4 separate regions of the Homo sapiens genome follow, and regions 2, 3 and 4 are each linked to region 1. The links are contacts of gene promoters, found by promoter capture Hi-C in blood cells and fetal thymus (Javierre and others, 2016). All regions are on one chromosome and are shown on one strand. The core of a region is centred on a gene start or on the middle of the fragment in contact, and the rest is flanking DNA. Distances in the headings are between cores, read along the strand shown.

What was found. Contacts are between HindIII fragments. The CHiCAGO score rates a contact against its expected background, and 5 or more counts as called.
Region 2: the fragment with the promoter of P4HTM here is called in contact with a fragment that was not itself captured in region 1 in 1 of 17 cell types (fetal thymus); the score reaches 5.8 in fetal thymus.
Region 3: a contact is called between the fragment with the promoter of WDR6 here and a fragment that was not itself captured in region 1, in 4 of 17 cell types (fetal thymus, naive CD8 T cells, neutrophils and 1 more). The highest score is 6.3, in fetal thymus.
Region 4: a contact is called between the fragment with the promoter of USP19 here and a fragment that was not itself captured in region 1, in 2 of 17 cell types (endothelial precursors and fetal thymus). The highest score is 5.1, in endothelial precursors.

The regions. Positions count from the first base shown.
Region 1 is chr3:49,469,725-49,472,880 of GRCh38, reverse strand. DAG1 (dystroglycan 1) reads right to left here and starts at 2,614. Exons shown (of 3, transcript NM_004393.6): 1 at 2,448-2,614. RefSeq lists a silencer at 2,196-2,935. The HindIII fragment of the contact is 729 bases long and covers 1,228-1,956 here.
Region 2 is chr3:48,988,788-48,991,943 of GRCh38, reverse strand. It overlaps P4HTM (prolyl 4-hydroxylase, transmembrane), which reads right to left and starts at 1,703. Exons shown (of 9, transcript NM_177939.3): 1 at 1,334-1,703; 2 at 1,030-1,111. The coding sequence starts at 1,687. LOC124909376 (a long non-coding RNA gene) reads left to right here and starts at 2,072. Exons shown (of 2, transcript XR_007095903.1): 1 at 2,072-2,396. RefSeq lists enhancers at 731-1,292, 1,950-2,109, 1,857-2,419, 2,420-2,983 and a silencer at 1,460-1,839. The HindIII fragment of the contact is 11,078 bases long and covers 496-3,156 here.
Region 3 is chr3:49,005,544-49,008,699 of GRCh38, reverse strand. It overlaps WDR6 (WD repeat domain 6), which reads right to left and starts at 1,309. Exons shown (of 6, transcript NM_018031.6): 1 at 1,169-1,309. The coding sequence starts at 1,268. P4HTM (prolyl 4-hydroxylase, transmembrane) reads right to left here. Exons shown (of 9, transcript NM_177939.3): 7 at 2,833-2,923; 8 at 2,513-2,636; 9 at 1,547-2,013. The coding sequence ends at 1,793. RefSeq lists silencers at 635-814, 1,355-1,404 and an enhancer at 1,543-2,531. The HindIII fragment of the contact is 5,770 bases long and covers 1-2,142 here.
Region 4 is chr3:49,119,084-49,122,239 of GRCh38, reverse strand. USP19 (ubiquitin specific peptidase 19) reads left to right here and starts at 1,417. Exons shown (of 27, transcript NM_001199161.2): 1 at 1,417-1,484; 2 at 2,959-3,156. The coding sequence starts at 3,095. LAMB2 (laminin subunit beta 2) reads left to right here. Exons shown (of 32, transcript NM_002292.4): 28 at 1-77; 29 at 155-296; 30 at 380-556; 31 at 648-807; 32 at 878-1,126. The coding sequence ends at 1,014. RefSeq lists enhancers at 140-1,128, 1,129-2,118 and a silencer at 1,237-1,556. The HindIII fragment of the contact is 7,172 bases long and covers 1-3,156 here.

The DNA.
Region 1 (3,156 bases), core at 343-2,842:
CCCAAAGTGCTGGGATTACAGGCGTGAGCCACCACGCCCTGCCTGGAGATAAAGTTGTTTTTTGTTTTGTTTTTGAGACGGAGTCTCGATCTGTGGCCCAGGCTGGAGTGCAGTGGCTCTATCTCAACTCACTGCAAGCTCCGCCTCCCGGGTTCACGCCATTCTCCTGCCTCAGCCTCCTGAGTAGCTGGGACTACAGGTGCCCACCACCACGCCCGGCTAATTTTTTGTATTTTTAGTAGAGAGGGGGTTTCACCGTGTTAGCCAGGATGATCTCGATCTCCTGACCTCGTGATCCGCCCGCCTCGGCCTCCCAAACTGCTGGGATTACAGGTGGGAGCCACCATGCCCGGCGATAAAGTTTTTAATAATCAAATGCCAGGCCTCCTTTCCTATGCATCGACGGCAGTCTAAGTGGTCCCTAAGTGGTCCCTCCAAATCCCACCATCCTCAACACTAACCAGACACAAGCAACTCTGTAGGTCACTATACCAGGTAGTCAACAAGGAATTTAAATCCTTGGTTATGCTTGGTCTTCTGGCCCATGCATTCCAGAATGTAGCTCCTCCCCCATCATGGCAGGACATCCCCTCTGTACTACCTTTTCAGTCTCTCTTTTCTGATGGCTCCTTCTCCCTCCCCACCTCTCCTCTGTTAGCTGACTTAACTGCCAGAGGTCCTGACCCCCTCCCTCTTCCTGCCACTCCACCAGCAATATCTTTCTAAACACAGGTCTGGGTCACACCACTCTACTGATTAAAAGGCTCCCCAGACTCCTGCACCCCGCATACAAAGTTGGAACTCCTGAGCACAAGGCAGGCCCAGAGCTCGCACCTGCCAAGCTGGAGGACTCCCAAGCACTATTTTAGGTGCTCATGTACATGTGGTTCCCTGTGTCCAGGCCTTGATGTCCCCCACTAATTCCTGCTGGCCCTGAAAACCACAGCTCAGGAATTCCCTCTCTCCTCAGGCTACTATGTGAGCACGCTTAGCGGGCAGACACTATTAATCATGGGTTCCCTGGTCCCCACTGCCCCCTAAACTGAATTCCTTAAGGGCAGAAGCAGACTCTTTTACATGGGTCCCTAGGATCTACCACAGAATTTGGCAGGTAGTGAATCAAAATATTTGTTCAAATGAATAAATGCATTTTGCAAAATCAATTTTTAAGAACAGTGAGGATTTGCACTGTGCCTCTTTTAACAAAAGCACATGTCAGCACAAGCTTTTATATCCCATAGGGTCTTCACATGATGGATCCAACTCCCTACTGAAATCTGATTTCTCCAAAATACAGGACACAGGCCATGAGCTCTTCTTCCTTAGTTCACAGCAAAAAAAACCCACAAAAGTTCAACTAAACTTCTCCATACTCAAACTATGGATTTTTATGCCTCCAAAATGTAGTACGGTTGAATTCTTTTTTAGAACAGGAACATTCCAAAATAATGTCTCTGAACTTAACTAAGCATAGAACCTGATAAAACTGCAATACCCCATCTACACCAGACTTTGCAAAACACCTGAAAGCACATCCAGCTCTTTATCTGGAATTATGTCCTATAAACACCACCTTCCCTTCACGGAGTCTGGCTTCTATGCCAGGAGTCACTTCTACTCGCTTATTTAGGGAAGCAGCAGGCTAGAATCTTAAGTTAGACTCTGCGCTATGAAGGTGCTGTCCCAGGCTCTTGCCTCAACCAGTCAAAACTTCATCGTCACCATTAAAACTAATTCTGAAGCAACTCGATTTACAAAAATAAGAACTTTTCAAGTTATAGAGATTAAAGGATGCATTTTAAGTTACCAGTTGAGTTTGTAGGAAACTAACTTAGAATTTATGGCAAAAAGATTCCAAGCCGAGACGACATTTTCTGTGGAGACACTATCCAAATACACTCGCAGGTGAACCAGGTCTGCCAAATACAAAGTGAAAAGGTAGTAAGTAAACAAGCTTCCAAAGGAGCTCAAGTAAGGATGACGGAACCCACCAAGGCTCTGAGCAGCTCTGACAGAGCAGTGGCGGCAGCGGTGCCCTTCCCTGCCTCTAGCGGGGCTCGACTCCCCACAGTCGGAATCCGGCCCAACTGGGCCACAACCCCTATTGGAAGCCAGGGAGGCGGCCCGCAGGCGGCTCACGACCGCGGCCAAGGCGCAGGCTCCACGTTCCCGGGAGCGCGGGCCGAGCTAAGGCCTGGCCCATCGCCGCGGCGCGCGGCCCGGGCCTTGCAGCCGAACGCTCCGAGCCTTTGCCTGCGGGACCCAGAGCAAAGGGGCGGCTCCGCCCGGGCGGCACCGCCTCCTCACCCACAAGGACGTCCGCGGCCGTGTCCCCGCCCCGGGCCGAACAGCGAGCAGCAGCAGGTGTTCCGCGGAAGGCTCAGCCGGCAGCAGGGATGGGGGCCCAAGCAGCCAGGCACAGCGGATAGGGCGGGCGGTGCACTCACCCAGCGCCGGCGGGAGGACCGCGGCAGGTGTTCGCTCCTCCTGGCCCCAGGACGCCGCCACCGCCGCTCCCCGGGGATTCGGCGCGAAGCTGCCGCCGCCGCCACCGCCAAGCCTAAGAGGCGCGAGCGCCGCGCCGCAGCCTTCGCGCGAGCACGTACCGGGCGGTGAGAGGGCGCTGAGCGCAAGGGCGGGGCGCGCGGCCGGAGCCTAGCAACCGCCTGACACGCGAGTGTTGCAGCCAATCCAGCGGCCAGCTCCGCGCGGCGCCGACTGGCTGTCCGCGCGCCGCCGGCTTCTGCCTGCGTCGGCCGCTCCGCAGCGCGCCGCACCCGCGCGCAAGCCCCGCCCCGGCCAGCACCTCTCTGCTCATTGGCTAGCCACTCCCCCGCCCTAAAAGTCACGCCCCATTATGGAAGCCTCGCCCCCACGGCCAGGGAAGTCCGTCCCGGGACACACCCCGGCGGTCGGTCCCGGTCACTCGGAGCCTTCAGAACCAGTAGTGTGGGGGAGGGGCTCCCCGCCCAACTTCAGGCCTTTGGGCCTCTAAGACTAATCAAGGGACAGTCAGGACTGCGAACTGGCCCAGCAACTGGCCACCCGTCGACTGCGTTCAGCCCTCCTTATTTCCTTCGAATGCAAATCAAGGGGTATTTCTAAGCCATGAGAACAATCAGGAAGCGTTCTCTCAATTGCAAAGGATGAAAGCCT
Region 2 (3,156 bases), core at 454-2,953, 480 kb after region 1:
TTGGAGGTAATGACTTGTGCTCAGATGTTCTACTTTGGCCCCAGCTCCTAACCCATTCCATCCCCCGGCAGGCAGGAATGGCCCTGGGTTTGCAAATATGTTTGTCACGGAGGCCAGGTACCCAGGGCTGGGCTACACAAACACCCTGGACAATGTCCATGGGACTAGGGGTCCCCACCCAGTTGACACTGGTGGTCTTTGAAGGACTCTGGGGTCTTCACAGCTCGCACTGTGGCTTTACTGCATAGGCCTTAGAGGCAGGCTATGTGGGTTCTAATCCTAGCTTCACCACTGAAGTAACCGTGTCAGCCTGGCCAAGCCACAGCAGCTCTCTGTCCCTAACTTTCCCCCTCACTGGCCTGAGTAGGATCTACACCCACTTCACAGAGGGGTTGCAGGAATTAAATGAAATAATCATATGAAGGCAAGCACATAACTAGAGCTCAGAAACGATGAGCTATGTTGTGGCTCCAACTGGAGTCACCCTAGAAAGCTTTGCCCATGATGGCTGAACAAAGACTTCACCTTAAGAAGAATCTCAGAGTGCTGGCAGCAAAAGCTGAGCCTCTGACTGGTACTCCAGTGGAGGAGGCTGGGGGGGTACCAGTTTATCTACATTTGGACGGCCTGCTTCTCATCAGACCACAAGGCCCACTTCGGCAGTGGGATTTTCCCCAGAGGTCCTGAGGTCGGCAGAAAGCTGGTTATCAGTCTCCCACCTTCCTCCCAGTTCTAGAAGGTGACAGAATTAATGGTGGCACGGAAGACAGGTGCAATGAAACGTTTAGACACCAGCCTCAGGCTCACCCTGCCAGCCCTGTGATGGAAGAATGGACTGCAGGGAGTTGGGATAAGAGGGAGTGTTACCCTATTTCGAGGACGGGGAAGGTCCTTCACTTTGGTAATCCTCTGGAAGGGCTGCTCTGAAGCAGCCATTTTCAAAATAGAGGTCACGTGGTCACAACGAGCCTCAAGGTGGCCACCAAACCGCAGCCCCTGGCCCTTCCCAGGAGTATCTGGCGGACTTACCGAAGAGCAGCGGCTTGAGGCTGAGGGTTCGGATGAAGTGATCCCTGTCGGTGACCAGCTGGACCTTACGCTCGTGCCCCACCTAAGGAAAAGGCGCACAGCGGGCAGCTGGGGCGCCAGACCGCGCTGCCCAAGAAGGGCCAAGTCGCCCCGGCCCGGAGAGCGACAGCAGGCGAGTGAGTGGGAGCGCGCGGGACCGACGCAGAGCAGCGCCGGGGGCAGCGTGGGGACCCGGGCTGAGCGCCGGTCCTCTCGGGCTCAGCCGTGCAGGGCCTGGAGCGCGGCGGGGCAGGGAGGTCCTCACCTTGATGCCCTCCAGCCGGGTGAGGGGACCTAAGGTGGGCTCGGGCCCGGGGCCCTGGGCACGGTGTTGGGGCCCGGGATCGCTGCTTTCGTCGCCGTTGCTGTAGTGCACGAAGAGCAGCAGCGCCAGCACGTTACCCAGGTACAGGTGCACGAACACCATCAGCACCAGGAAGTAGGCGCGCGAGCAGATGCCGCGGGGCTTGCACAGCGGACGCACCGGTGCGTCCTCGCCGTCGCCCAGCCCGGCCGCCGCCTGAGCCTGGCAGTGGTCTGGCGGCGCCCACTGCGGCCTCGAGGCCTCCTCGGCCGCCGCGGTCTCAGGCCGCTGGCCTGTCACCGCCGCTGCCGCCATGGCACCCAGGTCGCGCGCGCGCCCAGGGGAGGGGCCGCGGGGGTGCCCGCGCTGCGCAGTCGCCCGGACAACGGCCGCCAGGCCCGCGAGCGCCGCGGTCACTAGGAGACGGTGCCTGGGGGTGCTGAGCCCGCCCGGAGCCGCCTGCGTCCGCGCCGGGCTCGGCCTTCCTGCGCCTTGAGCCCCAGCCCACGCTGGGGCTTCTCTTCCCAAGCTGGGTTGCCGTCGGGCAGAGCTGTACACTCTCCAAGTCAGAAGCCAAGGTCCCAAGCGTAGACGCGGACAAGAGCGGCACCATTAAGGCATACACTAGTGGGAGCTTCTCGGTGCCTGCGTGAAGACGCCCTCTTGCCTCCGGGAAAAGTATCGTCTGCATCTTCTTGCTCCAGGAGCGGGGGTGGGGAGCGCAGCGCGGAGGAGGCAGCGCTGAGATGACTCAACAGTGCGGCATTTGGGGGCGCCGCGGAGGCTGGGACTGCGTAAGCGGCGATAGGGTAGGACCCACAGCCTCCTCGCAGGCATTCTTGGAGCTCGGTTCCGCGGTCGGTCCGGATCTCCCGGGAAGTCTCGCCGGAGTCAGGCAGGCCTTAGGAAGAAGCTGCCTGATGTGCAAGGTTTCATAGGCCGTCAGAGGGGGCATCCTGGAGGAGCCCTGGCATCAGGAAAGTGAGCCCCCCATGGCAGCCCGCAGGAATGAACCAGTGCTCAGGTATATGGAACACTCCTTGCATCAAAGCTGGCACGTGTGAAGAGGCGGGAAGGGACTCTTCCATAACTGAGACACCATTACCTCAGAGAAAAATTAAACAGATTATCACCAAAAACGGGGGTGGGGGGAGGACATACCTACCAGTGGTCAAGTGCCAAGGCATCCCTGCTCTTCTAGAGCTGGTTATCCTCAGGAAGAGATTACTACACGCCCTCAGGGCAGAAGCTGACCCCCCTCCCCGAGGTGGACTTGCAGGCAAGAGCAACACTTTTAAGGCAGGTCACACTGGTGGTTTCTCCCTACCCTGGTTAAGACCCCCACTACCTCTACTCCCATCTCCTCTCCCTTCCCCATAGCAAAGCATAGTCTGCATTTTCTAGTCCCCTCAAGTCAAGGCAGGCCAGGGGCTCCAAGGGCAGGCCCACCTCTTTCTTCTAAGATTTTTTGTGTGTGTGTGACGGAGTCTCACTCTGTCGCCCAGGCTGGAGTGCAGTGGCGCGATCTTGGCTCACTGCAACCTCTGCCTTCCGGGTTCAAGCAATTCTCCTGCCTCAGCCTACCAAGTAGCTGGCATGCGCCACCATGGCGGGCCAATTTTTTTTTTTGTATTTTTATTTATTATTATTTAGTTTTAATTTTTTAATTATAATTTTTTTTTTTTTTTTGATACAGAGTCTCGCTCTGTCGCCAGGCTGGAGTACAGTGGTGTGATCTCAGCTCACCGAAAGCTCCGCCTCCCGGGTTCAAGCAATTCTCCTGT
Region 3 (3,156 bases), core at 60-2,559, 460 kb after region 1:
ATGTGGCCTCTGCTCGCTTGTCCAGCTTCCTTTCCTCCCAGACTCCATTCCTGCTCTAACTTCACAAGAATTCCCTCCTTCCCCCAAAATGACAGATTCTTCCAGCCTCAAGGCCTTTGGCATGCTTACCCTCTTGCCAGGAACTCACCCCTTTTCCTAGTTCACTCTTGTGGTTCTTTGAGTTTCTGCTTCGTTGTTCCCCCTCAAGGAGCCTTAGGAGTTTAGCTCGCGGTAGGAACTCCGCGCTCCAAGAACCCCCACACCAGATCAAAACTGGATCATCCCCACCCCATACACACACCCTCTTAGGACTGGTGGCAACTCACTCAAGGCCTGACCGCCAAGGCCCTGCCTCAGGACCCTTATACAACTCAGCAGCACCAACATGGGTCATTAGTGGCTTCATGTAATGACTGTTCGAGACCAGCCTGGACTCTGACACCTCAGGTCCCAGGCCTCGCCTGTCCTTTGCGACCCGGTTCTCCTTGGAGGGACCTCCACACCTGATTTCCTGGACCTCAACCATCTCAGGAGGGGGTCTCAGCCCCTGCTTCCCCGGGCACCGCCCCCTACTCGGAAAGGTCTTATCCGCCGTTTTCCGCGACGCCACCCTCCTCAGAGGATCTTCACCCCCACCTTAGGGGGAAGAGACTCATCCCGCCCTCGAGAGGCCACACCCTTGCCCTCTCCCGGCCCCGCCTTCCCCAAGAGGCCACACCCCCTGAGGGGCCGGGGCCGCCTCCGCCTCCTCCTCCTCCTCCTCCCTCCGCCCCCCCCAGCTCGGCCCCGTCTCCTTCGGAGAGGCCAAGCCCCCGCCCATCTCCTAGAAGGGAGCACACCCCCTCAACCCTCAGCTCCCGGGCCTCCGCCTCCGCCTCCGCGCGGCCGCGTTCCCCTGCACCCTCCCGCGGTTCCACCCGCCCTTTCCACGCGGGCTGAAGTTTATGAAGCGCCGCGGCGGCCACATCAGCTTTGTCTCTCGGGCCCCGCCCTCTTCAGGTTGGCCCTCGTCCCCGCCATCTCCGGGGCTCCCTTCCCACCTCCGATCGGCCTCAACCTGCTGCCCGTCCTTCTCCTCAGGGCACCCCTTTTGTCCCTGTGGCACCGCCCCTGGGAGGCGCTGTTTCTTTCCCCCTTTCCACCAGGCGTGCCTCAAGCCAAGCCTCACCCGCCAACAGCCGGTCCCCCACGCACTCCAGACCCGTCACTGGGAGGAGTATAAGCTCCGAGGTTGCCCGCGGCCAAACGTAGTCCTCGAGAGCGTCCATGTCGATCCTCGAGGTGCTGAGGCAGCCACGGCTAAGAAGGGAGCTGAACTCTCGCGAGAACGAGCCTTCCCAGCGCGCCGCGCTGCCCATCAACAGCGCCCTCAGCTACAGGTAGCAGAGACCAGGGCGCCCGCGGCGGTTGTCCAATGACGACCCTTCGTCCCACGCAATCCAGCTCATCATTGGCGGGGCCCGCGGAGGGGCATCCCGCCCCTCGCCCCCTCACGTGACGCTTGCGGGGCGCTCCCAGCTGCCAGCCCGCTGCACCTATCGCGGACTCTGTTTCGCCGACCCGGAGTTTGTCGGGCCCGGCGGCTCGAACCTTGTGGTTTTTTATTTGACGGGGCAGATGGAGTCAGTACACAATAAATAACATGAATATAGGAACTGCGCCGTATCGCGGCTGGCGGGGTGGGGCAAGACATTGGCCAGACCTTTAGTCTGCAGCAGGACAGAAGGACAGCCGGACCCCTGATCTTGGGCAACTGGCGACCCGCGGCTGGGAACCGGGGCTAACTCTTCCCTCAGAGTTCCACGCGCGCATCGCGGTAGGCCCGGTCCAGAGCCCACTCGGGCTGTGAGTCGGTGCCCCCTTCTCGGGCAAGGCGGGCCATCTCCTGTTGGAACAGCGCTTGCCGCGCTCGGCTGGGGTCCACATTAATCCAGTTGTTGGCAATCCACTTGGTGCCGCGCGTGACCAGGCAGCCCCCGTGCAGCGAGTAGTCGTCTACGTCACCCACCCAACCTAGAAGAGGAGGGTGACGTGAGATCCTAGGCTGGGCTGGCCAGAGCTTGGCCTCATAGGCACCAAGAGCATGACCAAGGTGGGTCCAGCTATGCATTCCTTGTGTAGCAAACACCCAGACCTAAAGCTTCCTTGGAGGCTCCTCATCTCAGCCCACTAATGTATAGTCAACACTACTGGCCCTCTGAAACCAGCTTTCTTGCTGTTGGGCCTGTCCATATCCCTTCCCATCCTGGGTTAGCAAGGGACATGTGTCCCAAGCCCCAGGGAGTAGGAAGGCTGGGGCATCAGGGAATGATAGGGATGGATATAACCCAATAAGCAGTACAGGTCCTGGGGCAGTCTGCTAAAGTCACTAAGGATGGCCTTTGGGAGGCACCAGGAGCAGAAAACTATTTGGAAAGCAGCCAGAAACAGCCCTCCATTGTGGCAGACGGGGGCTGGGTAAAGGGAAGCTGTACTCAGGGCACCCCCCCCAGGCCTGGCCATAGGCCCTCACCTTGCCCATCAGGCAGGTAGTTGTACCAGAAGACTGCTGTGCCCTGTTGGGGCTTGACACGCAGGTTTCCCTTGTCACAGTGCCTCCGTGTGTCACGGAGGTCCACGTCATCCTGAATCAGACTCTGTGGGCAGCAGGGTGGTGGGGTGTTCAACCTGTCCCCACTCTATGGCCAGGCCAGCCAAGGGTGACCAAAGGGAAACCAACCAGATATGCCCAAGGAATAATTTGGGCCCACATCCTTAGACCTGGAGAGGTGTGTACTTCACTTGTCTAAGCCCCTGCCAGCCCACAAGAGTAATAGCCCAGTTGACCCTTACCATTTCATCGTAGGTTCTGTTATCTGCTACAGGGAAAACAGTCTCGCCCCCACCAGTGACGTTGTTCAAATAAAACAGCACTGTCATGTAGCTGTAAGGCAGGGGGGGCACTGAGCAGGTCCCCAGTTGTGGATGCTCCCAGGGGCTTACCTGTGGGCAGGATAAGCTGCCCAGGTTCCTGTTGCCAGGGACCAGGACAGACTAGGATGGGAGACAATAGGGCAGGCCAGTGCCAAAATGTCCCTAGCCCCTCCTTCCCCGAAACCCAGTCTCTTACTGTGAGTTGCAATGGTTTTTTGGCCAAGATCACAGGTGCACTTAGTT
Region 4 (3,156 bases), core at 168-2,667, 350 kb after region 1:
GTGGATGCGATCCTGGCACGTACTGTAGGAGATGTGCGTCGTGCCGAGCAGCTACTGCAGGATGCACGGCGGGCAAGGTCTGACCCCATCCCTGGCCCCTATCCCTGACACCTGGTTTTGATACCTCCAGGTTCTGATTCCCCCTTCTCCCCAGGAGCTGGGCTGAGGATGAGAAACAGAAGGCAGAGACAGTACAGGCAGCACTGGAGGAGGCCCAGCGGGCACAGGGTATTGCCCAGGGTGCCATCCGGGGGGCAGTGGCTGACACACGGGACACAGAGCAGACCCTGTACCAGGTGAGGTCTTCCTAGGACATCAGTGGGACAAGGTTATGGGCATGAACCGTAGATCTGTGTAACCTTTGGCTCACCCATGGCAGGTACAGGAGAGGATGGCAGGTGCAGAGCGGGCACTGAGCTCTGCAGGTGAAAGGGCTCGGCAGTTGGATGCTCTCCTGGAGGCTCTGAAATTGAAACGGGCAGGAAATAGTCTGGCAGCCTCTACAGCAGAAGAAACGGCAGGCAGTGCCCAGGGTCGTGCCCAGGAGGCTGAGCAGGTGGGTTGAGGCAGAGCCAGCTGGAGAAGGTAGGGGTGGAAGATGGGCCTCCACTGAGCTACCACGCTAACCTAACCCTCTACATCTGCAGCTGCTACGCGGTCCTCTGGGTGATCAGTACCAGACGGTGAAGGCCCTAGCTGAGCGCAAGGCCCAAGGTGTGCTGGCTGCACAGGCAAGGGCAGAACAACTGCGGGATGAGGCTCGGGACCTGTTGCAAGCCGCTCAGGACAAGCTGCAGCGGCTACAGGGTAAGAAATGGGGCACCAGAGACACAAGACTGCGGGAAACCCCCCCTAAACTGACACCTGCCCTTCCTAGAATTGGAAGGCACCTATGAGGAAAATGAGCGGGCACTGGAGAGTAAGGCAGCCCAGTTGGACGGGTTGGAGGCCAGGATGCGCAGCGTGCTTCAAGCCATCAACTTGCAGGTGCAGATCTACAACACCTGCCAGTGACCCCTGCCCAAGGCCTACCCCAGTTCCTAGCACTGCCCCACATGCATGTCTGCCTATGCACTGAAGAGCTCTTGGCCCGGCAGGGCCCCCAATAAACCAGTGTGAACCCCCACTGTGTTGTCTGGACTCTGATTTGGGGCGGGCGGGGGAGTCTCCAGGGGAACCTCGAGGTTGCCCCCAGCAGAACCCATGCACCGCTAAGCCACCCGAGCACCGCCTCCTTCCGCTCGGGCCCGCCCCGGAGCTGCGGGTCGCTCCGAGCCCATTCCCGCCGGAAGTGCGTCACCAGCTTGGCGCTCCGCCTCCCTCGGCCTTAGCTAGAAGTCGAAACAAAACAAGCCGCTAAGGCGGTGGCGGCGGCGCCGGGACGGGGGAGGGGCGCGCCGGAACCGGAACCGACCTGCGCCGGAACCGGAACGGAGAGCGGGTTGCCAGGGCCCGAAGAGGGCTGGCTGCGGCGGTCTCGCTCGGTGAGTGGAGCAGGCTGCAACTCGCTGGCTTGGCCGCAGCGGGGAGGCCGCAACGCGCGGCCGCGGCGGCCTGTTCAAGGTCACGGGCCGTGCCAGTCCCTACCCCTAGTGCCCCGCAGCGTGCCAGCCCACTGATGCCGGCAGGGCCGTTACGCTATGCCTGTGGCCAGCCTCCCACCTGGGAGAGGACTGGCGGCCAGCGAGGGCAACTTCGTGGGAGAGGTGGTGGCGGGCTCGGGGTTCAGAGGCTGAAGCTGGGTCGCAGCTCGACCGGGGCGCTGATCTGTGGTCAGTAACCCCGCGCTGCCATTTCAGGCCGGCTCGGGTCTCTAAACAGCCCCTTACCCGCCTCGACGTCCCTGGGGCATGGGGGAGGGACGCGACCTTCGGCTGGGGCCTGGGTGCAAGAAGGAGGCGCCGGTGGCAGGTGTCATTAAAGATCCAGCCCACCAGTACCACATCTGACCTGTAGAAGGGTATCCTGCCATCCCTCCTTCCTCCTTTACACACTTAGGGGAACACAGACTAGTCATTATCTGTCCTGCTACTGGTTCAGGCCAGGCTTGAGGCTGCCAGGAGTCCTGGATCTGTGGTCCTCCCCAGCCTCATCTCAGTATCTAGTTTCAAGACCTTCATTTTGGAGGAGGAAACAGTCCAGAATCCACTGGTGGGTCTGTGGGAAACTGTAGTGGTCCTTGTGGCTCAGAGCTCATGAGTGAAGGCATCTGGGAAGGAAGGTGATAATTTCTGTTCCAGTCTCAAACTGGATGCCCATCCTGCCTTAGTACTGGAGCAGGGTTGCTGCTGAAGAGGTAGCGTGACATCTAGATACACTTTTCAGTCCCTTTCTGCTTGGGACAGCAGCTGGGGAGAGGACTTTCTCTTGAAATGAAGAAGGACCAAGCAGTACATAGGAGCAGGTTCTTGCCAAGGGTGGGAGCTGGCAGGAGGCAGGTGGAGTGCCTTAGCCCCAGGACTTTTTCTGGGCAATGGTAGAACCTGGGTTGAGCCTGTTTACAGCCACAGAGCCTGGTTCTCCTGCGGCTTGTCTCCTGTCCTGCCTTCCTCCTCCACCTTCTATTTCTCCAGTGGTGACTAAGCAGCCAGTGAGAGTGAAGGAAAAGTGAGCACCCTGCTCGGAGTGCCAGCCCTGTGGGCTGGAGCCGTGGCTCCTCTCCAGATTGGTGGAGTAGCCTGGTCCCAGGCCATGACTTCCTTGACCTGGTGCCCCCTCAGTGAGGCTTTCACCTGTGTGGGACTGTTATGGTGGGTATCTATGAGGCTTGGCCAGAAGTGGTTGCTGCTACTTGCATTATTTATTACCTCTTCAGAATATCCTGAGAGTGTCCAGGGGTACTTAAGAGATGAGAAGATACAGCTCTGTAGCATTAGTGTCCTGTGTTGCTGAGCCCTGGGTGTAGCTAAAGAGCAAGTTGTTGGGTCTTGGCAGTGATCACTGGCTTCTTTCCATTAGGCTGTCCGTTCCTTGCTGGAGAATTTGGCCACAAAGAGTTGCCAAGATAGCTGGGCCAGGAAGAAAGCGCCGCAGCCCTGACCCAGACGCTGTTGCCGACCCCGGGGCACTCTGGCTGTCGACCAAGCGGCTCAAGATGTCTGGCGGGGCCAGTGCCACAGGCCCAAGGAGAGGGCCCCCAGGACTGGAGGACACCAC